Regions from separate parts of the Homo sapiens genome. Here regions 1 and 2 are each linked to region 3. The links are contacts of gene promoters, found by promoter capture Hi-C in human tissues and cell types (Jung and others, 2019). All regions are on one chromosome and are shown on one strand. Each heading gives the region's core, a stretch centred on a gene start or on the middle of the fragment in contact. The rest is flanking DNA. Distances are from core to core; before and after follow the strand shown.

Region 1 (4,370 bases), core at 136-2,635, 35 kb after region 3:
TTGGTCCCTGTGGTCACCTCTGACTGTAAACACACTGCAAAACACCGGCAAAAATCAAAAAGCTGGGCCGGTGATCCACCTAGATAAAGGCATCACGTACACATGGCCACAAAAGGGGGTGGATCAAATAAAGTCCAAAGAGGGGGAGTTGTTTACAGAGAAACCGGAAGACTCTTCCAGTTATCTGAACGGCAGGGCCAAGGTTAGCACAGCAAAACTGTTTCCATGATGCCGGAAACAGCTTGCAGACTCCAGTTTCGAAATCCTCTCTTTGCAGATGGCGACCAGTGTGAGACCAGTCCTTGCCAGAACCAGGGCAAATGTAAAGACGGCCTCGGGGAATACACCTGCACCTGTTTAGAAGGATTCGAAGGCAAAAACTGTGAATTATGTAGGTTCCTCTGCTTGGTATACCTTCAGATCAGATGCCCCTGAAGAGTGGCAGGTGGGCGGGGGAAGAAGTGAAAACGCCTAATGAAACAATCTTAAGTCATTTCTGATTTACAAAGTCTGGGCTCTATTATACCTATTATACTGTGCCACTATAGCAATAGAAAAAAAAGCCCCAATATGTCCCCCAAACGATTCGGTTTGGGGGCATGATGAGAGAGACACAGTCACTTCTCTGCTCCTCCGAGAGAGACTGTAGAACATTGATGAAGCGTGTGATCCATTCATGTGTAAACAGGAGTGGACTCTCTGTTTTCCTTGGGGCCAAGTGCATTGCCCTGTTATTCCTGCTCCTTGTGACCCTGTGCAGTGATTCTAAATCACCTCTTATTTATGTGTATGGATGCAGGTGTCAATATTTGTGAATATTTGTGATTGGCCAATTATAAAAATTTGATACATTTAATTAGTTCTACGTGGAAAAATCACTAAGTGCTTTCTCTAATGTGGTGATTAAGTTTTAAATAAAAAGTTAGGCTACTGTTAGATCAATTTCCCTAAGGAAAAAGATTTGCATTTCTTTTAAAGTACTTAATTGATCATCTTTTTTTTTTTTTTTTTTGAGATGGAGTCTCGCTCTGTGGCCCAGGCTAGAGTGCAGTGGCACGATCTCAGCTCACCGCAAGCTCCGCCTGCCAGGTTCACGCCATTCTCCTGCCTCAGCCTCCCAAGTAGCTGGGACTATAGGCCCCGGCCACCAGTCCCGGCTAATTTTTTTTTTTTTTAATTTTTTAGTGGAGACGGGGTTTCACCGTGTTAGCCAGGATGGTCTCGATCTCCTGACCTGGTGATCCGCCCGCTTCGACCTCCCAAAGTGCTGGGATTACAGGCGTGAGGCACAGCGCCGGCCTAATTGATCATCTTTAGACTGTGTTCTTAGATTGGATTACTTTTGAGTTTTCCCTGATGAGAATATCAATTACGCATCATTCCATTCCAAGTCCGCAGTCGCCTCCCTGGAACACCATTTGGTAACTTATGAGGCATAACCCTGTTCAGGCTCCCAGGGCTATTATGCACATTTTCTAAAATTTCAGGCATGTTGATCTTTGCACTGTGATTACTTTTTCATCAAAAGCCACACAGAGGGATGTGGAGTGACCGTAATGTGAGTGCTGCTGGGGCAGGGGGTACCGGCCATCCCGGAGGTGTGAGGGGCAGGTACCTGGAGCCTGGCTTCTGGCTACACCGGGCACTGCACCATGAGCTCCCCGTGACCCGTGAGGTTGCCCTTCAAGGCAAGTGTACCTGTCGCCTGGCTCTGGCCCTTTGCTCAACCCAATGGCCGCTTTGTGGCTGACAGGCAAGTGGATGTAGCTGGCACCCTTGGGCCAGCCCAGCCTCCATTTCTCCAGCTGTCCCCAGAGCCAACGTGCCTCTCCTTTGCAGTCACACGGAAGCTCTGCAGCCTGGACAACGGGGACTGTGACCAGTTCTGCCACGAGGAACAGAACTCTGTGGTGTGCTCCTGCGCCCGCGGGTACACCCTGGCTGACAACGGCAAGGCCTGCATTCCCACAGGTAGGAGGCACGTTGGGCCACAGCCACCCGCTGCCGCTGGGCCGGGCCAGGGAGGACAAGCCCGTGCCAGGGGGTGGGGACACAGGCATGTTCTGGGCGGGCCTGGCAGGTAACAGTGACACCAAGAGGACAGGACTGAGCCCTGGGCTCCGGGCCCAGGTGGTTCAAACATGAAGACCATGAGGTTTGGAAACAGACCCATTATTTCTGTAAGCCAGATCTGCTGTTTAACCTCAGCTTCCCCATCTGACAAATGGGACCAACACTATTGCCTGACTGCTTGGGTGATCCCTGGAGCACTTTGCATGATGCCTGGCCCACCGCAGGCCCTCAGTCTGCATTGGGACTGTGGGGGGATCCAGTGCAAGGGCTCAAAGCACCAGGGCAGGCAAAGGGCAGAGCTGGCCCGAGGAACTGGAGCTAAGGTGCGGGGCTGGGATAGGAGTCAGGGGACGCTCAGGCTCTGAGCTCCTTTTACCAGGACCAGTGTTCATTGAACGTAGTTTTTCTTTTCCTTGATGAATGTGGACAACAGGCGGCCAGAGGGCAGTGAGCACAGGACAGGCAGGGGACTGGGCAGGGTGGGGACGAGCCTCCCTGTCCTGACCCCGTGGGCATTGCCTACGCTGGGCTTGCCTGGCTGCCGGCACTTCCACACGGCCAGCACACATGAGGCCCTCGAAGGCGGGGCCTAGGCGTCACAGCTGCACCTTGCACAGCAACCCCACTCCCACTCATAGCTGGCCCGACCCGCAGCGTTGGCCTCACCCGGGGGCATATTCGAAGGGCAGAGTTCCAGGCCCGCCTTTTCAAGAGCCTGGTGACCCAGCTCACCTTCCGGCTTCAGGTGCGGCTCAGCCCCCAGACCGTGTTCTGCCCCCGGCTACCATGACTGTCCCCTCCAGACACAGGTTACTCCCGAGTGTTCTGTCACTCTTCCTTTCATATCCTTCTTACCGAAAACAATTTACTTCCAAAGATGAGTGATCACGAAAAGACCGGGTTCCATATGCATCCTTCAAGCGCTGCTTCAATTATGTGCCTGAAACATCTCAGCAAGTGAAAGACACTGTGGCTGACCTTGCTACTGGCAATGACATTCAAGCTTAAGCTGGTTAAAAAATATTTTAACTGAAGTCATTTCTTGACATACACACGAATATTTTTTAATTCTAGAAACAATCACAAATCCATTTAAAACCAAGTGTGGGCCGGGTGCAGTAGCTCATGCCTGTAATCCCAGCATTTTGGGAGGCCAAGGCGGGCGGATCATGAGGTCAGGAGATCGAGACCATCCTGGCCAACACAGTGAAACCCCGTCTCTAGTAAAAATACAAAAAAAAAAAAAAATTAGCTGGGCATGGTGGTGCACGCCTGTAGTCCCAGCTGCTCAGGAGGCTGAGGCAAGAGAATGGCGTGAACCTGGAAGGCGGAGCTTGCACTGAGCACTGAGCCGAGATTGCGCCACTGCGCTCCAGCCTGGGCAACAGAATGAGACTCTGTCTCAAAAAAAAAAAAAAAAAAAAAATCAAAAGGCAAATGTGATGTGTGAAAATAAAATTACATAATCTACTTTGTAGTGCAAAAAGTTCAGGCTGGGCAAGGTGGCTCACGCCTGTAATCCCAGCACTTTGGGAAGCCAAGGTGGGTGGATCACCTGAGGTCAGGAGTTCAAGACCAGCCTGGCCAACATGGTGAAACCCTGTCTCTATAAAAAAAAAAATACAAAAACTTAGCTGGGCGTGGTGGCGCACGCCTGTAATCCCAGCTACTCGGGAGGCTGAGGCAGGAGAATCGCCTGAACCCAGGAGGTGGAGGTTGCAATGAGCCAAGATCATGCCATTGCACTCCAGCCTGGGAGACAAGAGAGAAACTCCATCTCAAAAAAAAAAAAAAGTTCAGTTCCAAATAATGGATGAACTCAGAACTTGGAAGGGTGGTGACTGCACACATGGACAGAGCTGAGGCACGGCGGGGTGGAGGCCCCTGCGGCTGGCAGATTCACCGGAGCCTCCTCAGACTGCGCAGGAGCACAGCAAGTAAACAGCTAAGCTGTGCCCATCTGACCCCAGACACGTGTGGCCACAGAGAAGCCCCTTGCCATCCATTCCCCCCTCCTCTCCTCTCCTGCTCCCCCACACCCCTGCCTTCCTCCAACATGTTTCAGCCATTCTCTTGGCCTTGGTGCCCTAATTGGCCGTTATACAAAAGGAAGCTTCCTAACATCTCGGCGTGGCCTCTCTGGGAGCTGTGCTATTCCAGACGCTCTCCTGTGCCTCCAGTTGTTTGCGTGCGCCATTCCTTCTGCCTGAAAACTTTTTTTTCTTCAATGTTTCATTAGGAAAAGTTTTCCAACACACAGCACACTGGAAAGAATTTTGCAGGGAGTCGCACACGCC
Region 2 (4,792 bases), core at 1,502-4,001, 53 kb after region 3:
GGACAATTTATTATTGTAGAATTTTTGGTCCAAAGGTGGTATCTTTGAGAAGGCAGATGAGAAAATTAAATCACCACATACAACACGGTCAGTCCACGTACAACACAGTCAATCACAGCTGTGGCCTCGATGTTGATGCCTTCCTGTATTAGTCTGTTCTCATGTCACTGTGAAGAAATACTTGAGACTAGGTAATTTATAAAGAAAAGCGGTTTAATGAACTCACAGTTCCACATGGCTGGGGAGGCCTCAGGAAACATAATCATGGCAAGCAGGCACCTCTTCACAGGGTGGCAGGAGAGAGAAAATGTGTGTCAATCACAGGGGGAAGCCCCTTATAAAATCATTAGCTCTTGTGAGAATGCACTCACTATCACAAGAACCACCTCCATGATTCAATCACCTCCACCTGGTCCTGCCCTTGACCTGTGGGGATTATTACAATTCAAGGTGAGATTTGGTTGGGGACACAGAGCCAAACCATCCCCCAAAACTCACGTTGAAACCTAACCCCCTGTGCAATAGTACTAGGAGGTGGGGCCTCTGGGAGGCACTCTGCCTTCATGGATGGATGACTGCCCTCCCAAAAGAGGCTCCAGGGAGCACCCACATTCCTCCCTTCCACCATCCAAGGACACGTCTATGAATCATGGGCCGTCACCAGACACTGAGTCTACTGGAGCCTTGATCTTGGACTTCCCATCCTCCAGAACTGTGAGCACTACGTTTCTGTTTATCGTAAATTACCCACTCTAAGGTGTTTTGTTACAGCAGCCCCAACAGACTAAAATGGTCCATGAGGGAAGAGGTTGTAGCTCAGATACCCATGTCAGGCATATAGGATGTGCTTAATTAACACTTATTGATCGAATGTGTATGTCCCTGTCTGCCTTTCCATTTTTAGGCAGCTATTGATGGTTTTTAAACTATCCAGCAGAAGTATTTTTAATGTAAATTTCCATGTGGGAATACATTTTCACACAAAAAAAGGCACCTTTTCTTAAGTGAAGGCCACGTAGATTGCCAGGCTGGTGCAATTCACCCAAGAGCTATCCTATACAATCAACTTCTGGCTTTCAAATTATTTTAACTCACTCACTAAAGATAAACTTTATTTTCTTTTCCCAGCTTTTTAAAGCAAACTTCACAACTTCAGTGTATTTGCGGGCATGCCCTCTTAATCAAGGGTGTCAGCTTCTTAGTTTTCTTCTGTTCCCACTTTAACAAAATTGTATTTAGAATCCTTTCATTGAGTTTTGCCACCTTTGAGTGTCATTCAATCGAACAATATCTATATGCTGACAATGCTGTCATTTCATCTGTTACCACCTGAATCTCCACTGTGAGTCCCAGCTTCTCGGATGCCCACTCCTGTCTCCACCTGGACATCCCACAGACACCTCAAATTTGCCAAACCTCGCTTCCCTCTGCCCTCCTGGAGCTTGGCCGTCTCAGCACACGCACTGCCATCCTCCCAATCGCTCAGCCCAAACCTTGGAGCCGTGCTGCCCGACACAATTCATCATGAATCCCATCAGCTTTCCCTTCCTGAAGCATCCAGACTGCAAACGTGCTTCCTGCTGCATGGCTGCACCCTCACCCCCTCCTGGACTAGCCGGCAGCCTCCCTTTTGACTTCTCTGGAATGTTCTGTTCTCCACACAGCAGCCCAGTGATCCCTTCAGAGCACAAATCTTTCCATGTCAATTCCTGTTCCCTCCAATATCTTCCCAACACAGTGAAAATGAAACACCAGGTTCTTACCTCAGGCTTCAAGGGCTGATATGGTTTGGCTGTGTCCCCACCGAAATCTTATCTTGAATTGTAATCCCCATAGTCCCCACGTGTCCTGGGAGGGACCCGGTGGGAGGTAATTGAATCATGGGGGTGGTTTCCACCATGCTATTCTTGGGATAGTGAGTGAGTCTCAAGAGATTTGATGGTTTTATAAGGATCTGGCATTTCCCCTGCTTCAGTCATTCTCTCTGCTGCCACCCTGTGAAGAGGTGCCTTCTGCCATAATTATAAGTTTCCTGAGGCCTCCCCAGCCATGTGGAACTGGGAGTCAACTAAACCTCTTTTCTTAAATTACCCAGTCTTGGCTATTTCTTCATAACAGTGTAAGAAGGGACTAATACACAGGGCCTACATCTGAAAGCAGCAAACGACAACCCTGGGGCCAAATCTGGCCCCTTAATAGCTCTTATAAATAAAGCTTTATTGGCACACAGCCAAGTGTTCATTCATGATTGTCTATGCTGCCTCTGCTACAATGGTGCTGAGCTGTAGTGACAGACACTATTTGGCCCTTCCCCGCTTTCTCCCTCCTCCCTCCCTCCCTTCCTTTTCTCCCCTTCCTTCTTTCCATCCTCCTGCTTTCCCTCCCTCACTCCCTCCTGTCTCTTTCCCTCGTTCTTTTCTGTGTATTCCACACACACCTAGAACGTAAGCTGCATGTGACTTTGTCTGTCCCGCCCAGTGCTGTGTCCCCAGGGCCTATCTCACCTCCATTGACCACACACGGGCATGGGTGCCACCTTCCACCTTGCACCTGCTGCCTTTACCTTCTGTTCTCTGTCTCCCTAAATATCTCCCAGGGTCCTCTGAGCCTTCACCGTTCATTTCTCTGCCTGGCCTCAAACAGAAAACGTCAGGAGGGAAGCACACAGCTGCACAGGTCGTGCCCCGAGGCTCCTGCTGCCGGCACCTCCCCCAGCCTGGACTTTGGCTGTGTTTGTAGCCCTGTCCCAGCGCTCCGGGTGGGAATGGCAGGCTGCGTCCCACTGCTCCAGGGCCTGGTCCTGGTCCTCGCCCTCCATCGTGTGGAGCCCTCAGGTAGGCATCTGGCTTACCTGTCTGTTGTGCCTGTGCTGTGTCTTTCTTGACTCGGTCCATGGTGGATTTGTAGATGAGGCTTTTTCCAGGAGCCAGAGGAGCCCTGAGTGCCCAGACTAGTCTTAATTCCCCTGAAAAAGCTGTTTGGATCTTTATCATTTGGTGACAAGTATTTGGGACATGATAGTGTCACTTGGGGTCCTCCCAAGAGATGCCCAAATGGAAAGAAGCCTGTGTGCAGGGGATTCAGCCGGGAAAGGCCGGGGAGAGGGGAGGGGGAAAGGGGGAGGAGTGGGGGGAGGCCTGGGTTGGGCATTGGACGAGGGGAGGGGGTGGGGCAGGCTGAGCCCAGACTGCAATGTGGGCAGAGAGAGCCTTGGCCAGGCCAGCCAGGAATGCCCAGTCTTGAGTCAGGAGACATAGCCAGGGAGCAGCCACCCTGCCTGCCTGCCACCCTTCTACCACCAGCCACTTCACTGAAGGAACGACATGGACTCCATTCTGACTCTGCCTGCACAGGCGTCCAGGAAAGCTGCAAGTCAAAACACCCAGCATCCCCGCTGGCCCCATGGTCTCCCGCTGGCCCCATGGTCTCCCACCCTGAGAGGGTGATCCCCCCGCCCTGCCCTGCCCAGCACTTACCGTAGCCGGACTTAGCTGAGCCCCCCCTGCTGTAACCCTCAGCACCGAGAGAAAAGGAGGGAGGATGGGAAGGGCCTGGGCTTTGACCCTCCCGGAGAGGGAGAGAACATGCTTTGGGACCCTCAGGTGGGAAGAGGCTCCAGAGACCACTGCCGCGGGTCAACTCATTTGCCTTCTCCTCCTGGAAATCGCAGAGCCTGCTGCAATGTATAAGTTTCTTCTTTATGTGTTTTATCAAGATGTTAAATGCTGCGCACAGAGGCAGCACAGGAGCTGATGGCTCTTGGTCCCCAGTTCTCAGTACGGGGACCTTTGACCCCAGCTCAGCCTTCCTTCGCACTCAGACCCAAAACCCAGTTGGAGCCCTCCCTCCTCCACTTTCCTGACTGAGGCCCGTGGCCTCTCTGCAGAACCTTAGTGTATCCGCACTGATCCTGGGGCTGATCCATTCGCCCAGAGGATGAAGTGCTTGCCTACCTCGGGGGAGGGAGTAGCGGGGTGGCCCTGAGGCCCTCGCAGGCTGAGAGCCTGTGGAGACGGACGGGGCTGGGGCTGGCGGCCGGCCGGGGAGGAAGCCAGGCAGCTCTGGAAAGCAGGGCCCTCGGTGCTCCCAGTCACCTGCCTTCTTGTCTCGTCTGTAGTATTTCTCCCGGCCTCCAAAGCAAACGACGTTCTGGTGAGGTGGAAGCGTGCGGGCTCCTATCTTCTGGAAGAACTCTTCGAGGGAAACTTGGAAAAAGAATGTTATGAAGAAATCTGTGTCTATGAAGAAGCAAGAGAAGTGTTTGAAAATGAAGTAGTCACTGTATGTACCCCCACCACAAACCACAGGCCTCCTCATTATTTAGACTTCTGCTGGCCCAGGGAGCATCATTTCTCAGAGATTAAGCTTAATTAATTAGCCTATTTACTTACCGATGAGGTTGACACAATCCCAGTTTTACAGATGAGGAAACAATTTAGAGAATCGACTTAATCCACCTTTCCCTACAGCAGTGAGTGGGGCTGGAAGTCAGCTCAGAGCCCACTGGACTCATTTCTTCAGGTCAGGCAAGGCCCACACACTGATCAGACACCCAGCATACATTTTCTTTCTAGGCTTCAAGTCTGAATAATTCTCCTAATTTTAGATACTCCTACCCCAAACTAAGTGTCCCCACTCCCTACAGAGGTATATATCTTTAAAATTCAACTCGGTTTATAAAAAGCGAAAAGGTGATGTGACTTCTATATCATGTGCTTTTGTGGAGGGTGGCGTGGAGATTGGCCCTAGAAGGGAAGGGCCACGTTAGGGGCTGTGGGTGGTGGGTTTGTGC
Region 3 (4,384 bases), core at 36-2,535:
CCCCTCAGCAAGTGCTCTGCTCTCTGGACTGAGATGCAGGTCAGCAGCAAGCAGGGAGGCTTTGGGGGTGCTGGGGGCTGCTTTGAAAGGCACCCCTGAGCTAAGACTTGGCTGTTGGGAAGGAATCACCTCCCTCCCTCCAGCCGTAAAAAGAACTGGACATCAGCTTCCAAAGAAGTCATCAGCAATGCAACTGTTCACATGGAGGATACTCCCTGCTTGAGGGGTCAGACAGGCCTGCTGGGCAACCCAGGAGGCTTGGATGACCGTCTACCCCAGTGTTTTTGGGATGGAAAGTTCCACATTCTGAGAACCCTCAGTCCCTGGGCAACCTGGGGTGGTTAGTCACCACAGCTTGTGGCTTGGGCCCATGACAGCAGGTAGAAATGACGTGGACTGCCGCCAGCCGGGCACAGTGGCTCACGCCTGTAATCCCAGCACTTTGGGAGGCTGAGGCATGTGGATCACTTGAGGTCAGGAGTTCGAAACCAGCCTGGTCAACACGGTGAAACCCCATCTCTGCTAAAAAAAAAAAATATATATATATAAATTAGCCAGGCATGGTGACGTGCACCTGTGGTCCCAGCTACTCAGGAGGCTGAGGCACAAGAATCACTTGAACCCGGGAGGTGGAGGTTGCAGTGAGATTGCACCAGTGCACTCTCCAGCCTGGCAACAGAGCAAGACTCTGTCTCAAACAAACAAAACAAAACAAACAAAAAGACGTAAGATGTGGACCGCTGGAGAATGGGGGTGCTGCCTGCAGTCAAAACGGAGTGGGGGTGCCCAGCTCAGGGCCAGAATGATCCTATTCCCGGCACTTCTCAGTGAGGCTCTGTGGCTCACCTAAGAAACCAGCCTCCCTTGCAGGCAACGGCCTAGCTGGCCTGGTCTGGAGGCTCTCTTCAAATATTTACATCCACACCCAAGATACAGTCTTGAGATTTGACTCGCATGATTGCTATGGGACAAGTTTTCATCTGCAGTTTAAATCTGTTTCCCAACTTACATTAGGGGTTTGGAATTCTAGATCGTATTTGAAGTGTTGGTGCCACACACACCTTAACACCTGCACGCTGGCAACAAAACCGTCCGCTCTGCAGCACAGCTGGGGTCACCTGACCTTTCTCCTGTCCCCCCCACTTGAGCTCAGTGGCTGGGCAGCAGGGGATGCATGGCCACTGGCCGGCCAGGTGCAGCTCTCAGCTGGGGTGTTCAGAGGACGCCTGTGTCCTCCCCTCCCCCATCCCTCTGTCACCCTTGGAGGCAGAGAACTTTGCCCGTCAGTCCCATGGGGAATGTCAACAGGCAGGGGCAGCACTGCAGAGATTTCATCATGGTCTCCCAGGCCCTCAGGCTCCTCTGCCTTCTGCTTGGGCTTCAGGGCTGCCTGGCTGCAGGTGCGTCCGGGGAGGTTTTCTCCATAAACTTGGTGGAAGGGCAGTGGGCAAATCCAGGAGCCAGCCCGGGCTTCCCAAACCCCGCCCTTGCTCCGGACACCCCCATCCACCAGGAGGGTTTTCTGGCGGCTCCTGTTCAATTTCTTTCCTTCTAGAAACCAGCATCCAGGCACAGGAGGGGAGGCCCTTCTTGGTGGCCCAGGCTTTGGCGGGATTATTTTTCAAAGAACTTTAGGAGTGGGTGGTGCTTTCCTGGCCCCCATGGGCCCCTGCCTGTGAGGTCGGACAAGCGCAGGGAGTCTGGGGCCTCTCAGAGTGCAGGAAGTGCGCACAGGGTGCTCCCAGGCTGGGGAGCACAGGTAGGGGACGGTGCGTGGGGGATGGCGCCTGGGGCATGGGGGATGGGGTGTGGGAAACGGCATGTGGGGCGTAGGGGATGGGGTGTGGAGGATCGGGGGTGGGGATGGCGTGTGGGGTGTGGGGGATGGGCCGTGGGGGGGTGGGGCCTGGGAAACAGCATGTGGGGCATGGGGTGTGGGGGTGAGGTGTGGGAAAGTGTGTGGGGTGTGGGGGATGGGGCATGGAAAGGGCGTGTGGGGTGCAGGGGATGGGGCATGGAGGTGTGGGGGATGGGGTGTGTGGGGTGTCGGGGATGGGGCATGTGGGGTGTGGGGGATGGGGCATGGAAAGGGCGTGTGGGGTGCAGAGGATGGGGCATGGGGGGGTGGGGATGGCGAGTGGGGCTGGGGCCTGGGAATGGTGAGTGGGGCATGGGGATGGCGAGTAGGGGGTGTGGCGTGAGGATGGCTAGTGGGGCGTGGGGATGGCGTGTGGGGATGGCGAGTGGGGGGTGGGCTGTGAGGGACAGTGCCTGGGATGTGGGGCTGCAGCCCTAGCTCACAGCATGGCCTTATGACCCCGGCCACCTTCCTGCCCCAGGCGGGGTCGCTAAGGCCTCAGGAGGAGAAACACGGGACATGCCGTGGAAGCCGGGGCCTCACAGAGGTGAGCAGGGACTGCCACTGGTTTTGTCCTGGGGCCCAGTGGGGGCCAACATCACCTCCTTCCCCTCCCATGGCAAAGAGCCAGCCCGCGGGGTGGCTACTGCAGTGCCCCCCAAGGAGGGTGTTCCCTGCTCGAGAGGAAGTGACCGCTCCAGCTTGGCCTTCCCTGGGACTGGGGTGCAGGCGATTTTATCTTCTTTGCTCCATTCTGTTCCTTCCAGATAATCGTGTGTTCTTCATCAGGTTTTCCTCAGTTCTTGAGAGCTTTTCTGATGCAAATCTGCTTTCACCCCAGGGCGGTCACCGGCTCTGCTCACACCAGCCTCCAAGGGTGTGGGTGTCCCGGGAGTGTGGGTGTCCCGGGGGCGTGGGTGTCCCAGGAGTGTGGGTGTCCCGGGGGCGTGGGTGTCCCGGGAGTGTGGGTGTCCCGGGGGCGTGGGTGTCCCGGGAGTGTGGGTGTCCCGGAGGCGAGGGTGTCCCGGGAGTGTGGGTGTCCCGGGGGAGTGGGTGTCCCGGGAGTGTGGGTGTCCCGGAGGCGAGGGTGTCCCGGGAGTGTGGGTGTCCCGGGGGCGTGGGTGTCCCGGGAGTGTGGGTGTCCCGGGGGAGTGGGTGTCCCGGGAGTGTGGGTGTCCCGGAGGCGAGGGTGTCCCGGGAGTGTGGGTGTCCCGGGGGAGTGGGTGTCCCGGGAGTGTGGGTGTCCCGGAGGCGAGGGTGTCCCGGGAGTGTGGGTGTCCCGGGGGCGTGGGTGTCCCGGGAGCGTGGGTGTCCCGGGGGCGTGGGTGTCCCGGGAGTGTGGGTGTCCCGGGGGCGTGGGTGTCCCGGGAGTGTGGGTGTCCCGGGGGCGTGGGTGTCCCGGGAGTGTGGGTGTCCCGGGAGTGTGGGTGTTCCGGAGGCGAGGGTGTCCCGGGAGTGTGCGTGTCCCGGGGGCGTGGGTGTCCCGGGGGCGTGGGTGTCCCGGGGGCGTGGGTGTTCCGGAGGCGAGGGTATCCCAGAAGTGTGAGTGTCCCAGGGGCGTGGGTGTCCCGGGGGTGTGGGTGTCCCGGGGGCGTGGGTGTCCCGGGAGTGTGGGTGTTCCGGAGGTGAGGGTGTCCCGGGAGTGTGGGTGTTCCGGAGGCGAGGGTGTCCCGGGAGTGTGGGTGTCCCGGGGGCGTGGGTGTCCCGGGAGTGTGGGTGTTCCGGAGGTGAGGGTGTCCCGGGAGTGTGGGTGTTCCGGAGGCGAGGGTGTCCCGGGAGTGTGGGTGTCCCAGGGGCGTGGGTGTCCCGGGAGTGTGGGTGTTCCGGAGGCGAGGGTGTCCCGGGAGTGTGGGTGTTCCGGAGGCGAGGGTGTCCCGGGAGTGTGGGTGTCCCGGGGGCGTGGGTGTCCCGGGGGTTGTGGGTGTCCCGGGAGTGTGGGTGTTCCGGAGGCGAGGGTGTCCCGGGAGTGTGGGTGTTCCGGAGGCGAGGGTGTCCCGGGAGTGTGGGTGTCCCGGGGGTGTGGGTGTCCCGGGGGTGTGGGTGTCCCGGGAGTGTGGGTGTCCCGGGGGAGTGGGTGTCCCGGGAGTGTGGGTGTTCCGGAGGCGAGGGTGTCCCAGGAGCGTGGGTGTCCCGGAGGCGAGGGTGTCCCGGGAGCGTGGGTGTCCCGGGGGCGTGGGTGTCCCGGGAGTGTGGGTGTCCCGGGGGAGTGGGTGTCCCGGGAGTGTGGGTGTCCCGGAGGCGAGGGTGTCCCAGGAGTGTGGGTGTCCCGGGGGCGTGGGTGTCCCGGGAGTGTGGGTGTTCCAGAGGCGAGGGTATCCCAGAAGTGTGAGTGTCCCGGGGGTGTGGGTGTCCCGGGGGTCGTGGGTGTCCCGGGAGTGTGGGTGTTCCAGAGGCGAGGGTGTCCCGGGAGTGTGGGTGTCCCAGGGGTGTGGGTGTCCCGGGGGCGTGGGTGTCCCGGGAGTGTGGGTGTCCCGGGGGAGTGGGTGTCCCGGGAGTGTGGGTGTTCCGGAGGCGAGGGTGTCCCGG

What was found. The method cuts DNA at HindIII sites, captures the fragments that hold promoters and counts their contacts. A contact is called where the count stands out against the background at its distance.
Region 1: a contact is called between a fragment that was not itself captured here and the fragment with the promoter of F7 in region 3, in 1 of the 25 tissues and cell types used here (liver).
Region 2: the fragment with the promoter of PROZ here is called in contact with the fragment with the promoter of F7 in region 3 in 13 of the 25 tissues and cell types used here (H1 embryonic stem cells, IMR-90 fibroblasts, adrenal gland and 10 more).

Annotation. Positions count from the first base shown.
Region 1 is chr13:113,139,080-113,143,449 of GRCh38, forward strand. It overlaps F10 (coagulation factor X), which reads left to right. Exons shown (of 8, transcript NM_000504.4): 4 at 278-391; 5 at 1,840-1,971. It overlaps LOC124903215 (a long non-coding RNA gene), which reads right to left and starts at 278. Exons shown (of 2, transcript XR_007063879.1): 1 at 1-278. RefSeq lists an enhancer at 4,087-4,370. The HindIII fragment of the contact is 4,492 bases long and covers 1-3,631 here.
Region 2 is chr13:113,155,897-113,160,688 of GRCh38, forward strand. PROZ (protein Z, vitamin K dependent plasma glycoprotein) reads left to right here and starts at 2,752. Exons shown (of 8, transcript NM_003891.3): 1 at 2,752-2,834; 2 at 4,118-4,281. The coding sequence starts at 2,765. It overlaps LOC124903216 (a long non-coding RNA gene), which reads left to right. Exons shown (of 4, transcript XR_007063880.1): 4 at 634-714. RefSeq lists enhancers at 2,235-2,812, 3,389-3,966. The HindIII fragment of the contact is 7,105 bases long and covers 484-4,792 here.
Region 3 is chr13:113,104,506-113,108,889 of GRCh38, forward strand. F7 (coagulation factor VII) reads left to right here and starts at 1,286. Exons shown (of 8, transcript NM_019616.4): 1 at 1,286-1,400. The coding sequence starts at 1,337. The HindIII fragment of the contact is 23,631 bases long and covers 1-4,384 here.